2 separate regions of the Homo sapiens genome follow, and region 2 is linked to region 1. The links are contacts of gene promoters, found by promoter capture Hi-C in blood cells and fetal thymus (Javierre and others, 2016). All regions are on one chromosome and are shown on one strand. The core of a region is centred on a gene start or on the middle of the fragment in contact, and the rest is flanking DNA. Distances in the headings are between cores, read along the strand shown.

Region 1 (2,753 bases), core at 254-2,753:
ACTCACAACATGGAAAAATTATTTGTCAATCATGTATTTCATAAGGGAAGTGCAAATCATGTCTGATAAGGGAATTGTATAATGAATACTCACATCTCAATAACGAAAAGACAACCTAAATTTTAAAATGGGCCAAGGATCTGAATAGACAGTTCTCCAAAGGAAGTATACAACAAGCACATGGAAAGATGCTCAACGTCCTTAGCCATCGGGGAAACACAAATCAAAACCACAGGGAGATACCACTTCACATCTGCTGGACTAAAGACAGCGGTTGGTGTGCACACTGAGGAAATGGAACCCTCATACCCCGCTGGCTGCTGTGATTCCACTTGGAAAGCAGCCTGGCAGCTCCTCACAAGATTAAGCACGGTAGTCACCTACGATCCAGCCATTCCTCTCTTAGGTATAATGAAAACATATTGCCACACAAAAACTCATACAGGAATGTCCTTGCAGCGTTATTCGTAATAGCTAAAAAATGGAACAACTCACATGTCATCAGCAGATGAATGGATAAACAAAACTTGGCACAGCCATGCAGTGGAGTATTATTCAGCCACACAAAGGAATACAGTTCTGACGCAATCTGCAGCACAGACGCACCTTGAAAACGCTCACCAAAAGGAGCCCCCACAGAGACCTCCTGGCGTGTGACCCCATTTCCATGAACTTCCAGAACCTGCGGGGTGGTGGTTCTATGTGTGGGGGTGCAGGAGAGGGAATGGGGGTAGCTACCGATGAGAACAGGGTTTCTTTTGGGGGTGGTGAACACAACTTCGTTAATATACTAAAAACGAACTGTACACCTTAAATTAGGTGAGTTTTATGGTATGTGAACTGCATCTTAAGCAATTATTTTAAAAATTTAAAAAGCAAGCTGAGCAGCCTGGCCAACATGGTGAAACCCCATCTGTACTAAAAATACAAAAATTAGCCAGGTATGGTGGTAGGCGCCTGTAGTCCCAGCTACTCGGGAGGCTGAGGCAGGAGAATCGCTTGAACCCGGGAGGCAGAGGTTGCAGTGAGAGGAGATCGCGCCACTGCACTCCAGCCTGGGCGACAGAGCGAGACACTGTCTCAAAAAAAAAAAAAAAAAAAAAAAAAAAAAAAAAAAAGCGAGGTGCGGTTTCCAAACTGCAGATACCCATTGGGAAACGTGGGTAACACGGTTTTGAAATCTCTACTGCGTCTGTAATGGTAACACGGTCCTTGCAATGTGATAATGTCCCAATAGTTTATCTTTATAAACATTTTAAAACATTAACAAGCCTTTCTCCGCCTTTGTTCCACTTGCGCCTCTTTGCCCCTCTCCCCCGGGCTCCTCCTCCCGGCTGGCCCTCCCCGCTGAAGTCACGGAGGCGCTCAGCTGGCCCCGGGGTCTGGGTGCGCCCGCCCTGCCCGCAGCCGGCGAGGGGCCCTGGGGGGTCGGCGGGGCGGGTCCGGGGGAGGCCGCGGTGACCTCGGGGCGCGTGCAGACCCCGCCCTCCGCGCCTGGCCACAGATTCCAGCCCACCTTGGCGACCTGCGGAGCCGGGGGCGGAGAGAGGAGGCGCAGGAGGACCCGCGACACAGCTCGGGATCCGCGCGCGCTGGGCCTCCGGCGCCGCTCGTGGGGTTCGGGAGGCCGGGACCCTGCCCGGGAGATGTGGACGCCGGGCGGACCCCCGGGGTCCGCGGGCTGGGACCGCCGTAGGTTGGGCGCGAGGTTGCGCGCGGCGTTCGCGGGGCTGCAGGAGCTGCAGGGGCTGCGAGCCACGCAGCAGGAGCGGGTACGGGGCGCCCTGGCCCTGCAGCCCCCGCCCGCGCCCGCCGCGCCCTGCGGCCCCCACGGCCTCCACGGCCCCGAGCAGCAGCTGGAGGCGGCGCTGGCCGCGCTGCAGGAGCAGCTGGTAAGGACCGGGCGCCGGGACTCGGGGCTGCGAGGTGTGCGGGCCACAGGCGCTGCTCCTTCGGCAGCGACTGTGTGTTAGTGGGACGGGGGTGTCTGATGGATGGAGGGGACGTCCTTTGGGATTTGAATGGAATGCAGTTCGGTCTCCAAGGAGGGGGACATGGAGGCCCCGCGCGCAGGTGCCTAGAGGTGAAGCGCACAGGTGAGGACCCTGAAAACTGCCCGGGGCTGCAGCCCGCGCTCCGCCGTGCGTGGATGTGCGCCTACCCACGCCAGCATCCCGAAGCTGGCAGATTTGGGAGAGACACCCTGTTCGTTACAGGGTTACAGCACTGATCTGACCTGCAGGCACTGACCGGCGTTCCCCTGGCGGAGGTCGGCTCGGGATCCTGGCATCACTCCCCCCCCGGGGACCAGGTCCCCCCTGCTGTCTTGGGTTAGGGGCAACAGTGTCCGCGTGGTAAAGCGCACCCCGACTTGTCCTCAGGAATGTGCTGACTTTTCTTAAGGTCGCGTCACTGTAATAAAGTATTGGGGGAAAGCATGTAACTGACAAAGGCCTCTTCAACTTTAAAATGTGACCTGACCTGTAAGGAGAGGCGTGTCCTCTGATCCAGAGGAGAGAGACTCTGATTTCCCTGCCACGGGCCCTCTTCAGCACTCCCTGGGCGCTCTGAACCCCTCCTTTCACACAATGAAAGGAACTCCACTCATTACCCCTCTGCTTATTATGTTATTGTATGATTTTGTTAAACTTACTGGAAACAACTCACAAGCGTTTTCGTAGTTGCTGTATTTTCTTAAAGACAAACTAAAAAGGCTGGAGAAAGATATGTTTACTTGTGTTACCTCTGTTACA
Region 2 (2,753 bases), core at 138-2,637, 240 kb after region 1:
CTGCTGCCGCCCTTCCTGATACGCCGGCACTGTGACTCCAGGCAGCGGCTGAGGGCACCCGGCACAGGGACGAGCTGCTCAGGCGCCAGTGGCACAGGGCCATGAGGATCCAGCCTCTGCTCTCTGGGGCTGTTTTTTTTTGTGGTTTTTTTGCCATTTTTAAAACTTTTTGTGCTCTCAGCTAAAGGGATCCCCACATCTTCCATAGTGAACAGCTCTACGTTTGCTGTGGAGAGAAAAGAGACCGCCACTGCTGTCTTGGGCACACATGTGTGGCCTCGAGGGTCTGGGAAGGGTCTGGATCTGAGCGGAGGGAGGGAGGGAGGGAGCCAGTGTCAGTCCAGGGTCCGGGGGAGGTGAGGCCTAAGCCTCCTAAATCTTCTCAACCCACCGGGCCGGGCCTTAGGGCGGCTGGAGTGCGAATTTCCTAAACCCACCGGGCCAGGCCTTAAGGCGGCTGGAGTGCGAATTTCCTAAGATGAACAACGGCCCGTCCGGAGGTCCAGACCCCTTACTAGAGGAAGGTCCCAGAGCATCCCAGACTCCATGGCAGGAAACTGATGGAGCTCACGGCTGAGGACAGAATTCCACAGCCCAGGCCCGTGGGAACTGCCTCTCCTGACCTGCAGCGCCCAAAGGTCTGGGTGGTCCCAGGGCCAGGCAGGATCCTGGGGTCCCTTCCCCACCTAACACTGTGCCAAAGAGCTCGAAGGCGTTGCTCATCTCTGCTGAGCGGCCTCAGGGGTTCCAGGCCCTGCGGGAGATGTCCCCACCCCTCGTGCTGATGCACCCGGCTGCTGTCCACGCAAGCCAGGACCCCCTTCCTGGCCTTCCAGCTGCTGCAGGCAGGAAGGGATTTGCTGGCCCTGGACAAGGAAGGAAGTGTCCTCAGTTTCCAGCCCCTAAAGGGAGCCAGGGTCCCTCCTGGCAGAACCTGTCCAGGAACGGCAGCTGTGCTGCTTCCTGAGGTCGATAACAGATGCCACAGGAGGTGTGTGGGGCAGGGTGCCCACCCAGGCTGCCTTCCTCCCGCCCTCCTCGTCCTGCCCTGCTGCTGCTCCATCTTCCCCAGCAGCCCTGGCTCTGGCATCTGTGCCCATGGGGTTTGCATAGCCCTCTCCACATTATAGAAGAAGGAGCAGGCACCCTGAGGAGATAGGGGTTGTCAGGTGGAGGAGTTGGGTCCTGTCTCCCCCAGCCTGGTTCTCACGGGGCCCACACCGAGGCTGGCTGCTGAGCTACCCTGCATGGGAGTGCTGCATGGCGGGTGCCCAGCCTGAGGTTGTTTATTTGCATTCCTGGCGCCCTCCACACACCCAGCTATTTGCAGCTCTGACCCTTGTCCTGGCTTGGCCATGCTGGATTCCCAGCCCAGGCTTCCCTCTCAATTCCCTTCCCAGTGAGAAGCTCGGCAAGGGCGGGTCCCGGAAAGCACAGCTGTGATCTGGGAGGTGCTGAGCACCCACCTGCGACCCATGGCGGGGGAGGGCCGAGTAACGACAGCATGGCGGTGCCCCCGAGAGGGAGGGGCATAGACCCCGCCCGGACAAACCCTGACACGTTCCCTCCTTCAGGGGCGCGATGTATGGAACCCAGTCCTGAGAGGCCTGCATGCAGTCAGCAGGAGCCGACCCTGGGAATGGACGCGATGGCCTCGGAACACAGGGATGTCCTCGTGCTGCTGCCCAGCCGGGAGCAACTGCGGCTGGCCGTGGGGGTGAGCAGGGCCCTGGGTGGCCGTGGGGGTAAACAGAGCTGTGGGGGTGAGCAGGGCTCCGGGTGGCCGTGGGGGTGAGCAGGGCCCTGGGTGGCCGTGGGGGTGAGCAGGGCCCTGGATGGCCTTGGGAGTAAACAGAGCCATGGGGGTGAGGAGGGCCCTGGGTGGCCATAGGGGTGAGCAGGGCTGTGGGGGTGAGCAGAGCCATGGGGGTGAGCAGGGCCCTGGGTGGCCGTGGGGGTGAGCAAGGCTGTGGGGGTGAGCAGGGCCGTGAGGGTGAGCAGAGCCGTGGGGGTGAGCAGGGCTGTGAGGGTGAGCAGAGCCGTGGGGGTGAGCAGGGCCGTGGGGGTGAGCAGGGGTATGGGGTGAGCAGAGCCTCAGGACACAGCCTGTGTATGGAAAGTCCCTGGACCGCCTCACTCTGCTTAGGCCAGGTGTCTGTGAGGTGTCAAGGGCCAGCCCTTTCACTGGGCCTGTGAAGGAAACATCCCTGATAGACGTTGCTGTGAGAAATAAGTTTATGGTTCAGCACATCCTTCCCGGGAGGGAGCGCTGAGGGAAGAGCGCCAGGAAGCCGGTTTCCAAGGAGCAGCTCCTGTCTTGTGTTCAGACGTCACCATCTCTATGCTTCTCTATTTCCTTTTCTTTTCCCTTTCCCCCATTTTGTCTACCTGTTTTAGTTGAGTTCATGGCGACAGGAGTTGAGATGGTACTTTCATTTTAATGATTAATGTGGATAATGAAAATGTGGCAATTAAAATGAGAGTGGTTTGTTGAAGAACGATGACTTTCTGCATAGCTAATGTATCATTGCTACCTGGAATGGAGTATGACTTGCTAGTAATATCCTGGTTCAAGTCCCCTGGGAATCTGGGAGTCTCTTGTCTGCTTCGGGATAGAGTTCTGTGTTTACGTAAACGCCCACATCTATGTTTGTGGCAAAATCTTCCCCAAGACTCTGTGTCCCCACCCAGCAACGAGAAGCTGGAGTTGAGCTAATGGGGGATGTCCTGTAGTTTCCTGGGGTCCCCAGCAG

Evidence for each region. The method cuts DNA at HindIII sites, captures the fragments that hold promoters and counts their contacts. A CHiCAGO score of 5 or more calls a contact.
Region 2: the fragment with the promoter of FRMD1 here is called in contact with the fragment with the promoter of DACT2 in region 1 in 5 of 17 cell types (erythroblasts, neutrophils, monocytes and 2 more); the score reaches 7.9 in erythroblasts.

What each region holds. Positions count from the first base shown.
Region 1 is chr6:168,318,527-168,321,279 of GRCh38, reverse strand. DACT2 (dishevelled binding antagonist of beta catenin 2) reads left to right here and starts at 1,503. Exons shown (of 4, transcript NM_214462.5): 1 at 1,503-1,892. The coding sequence starts at 1,647. The HindIII fragment of the contact is 10,835 bases long and covers 1-2,753 here.
Region 2 is chr6:168,077,846-168,080,598 of GRCh38, reverse strand. It overlaps FRMD1 (FERM domain containing 1), which reads left to right and starts at 1,387. Exons shown (of 11, transcript NM_024919.6): 1 at 1,387-1,717. The coding sequence starts at 1,505. RefSeq lists an enhancer at 1,675-2,396. The HindIII fragment of the contact is 11,905 bases long and covers 1-2,753 here.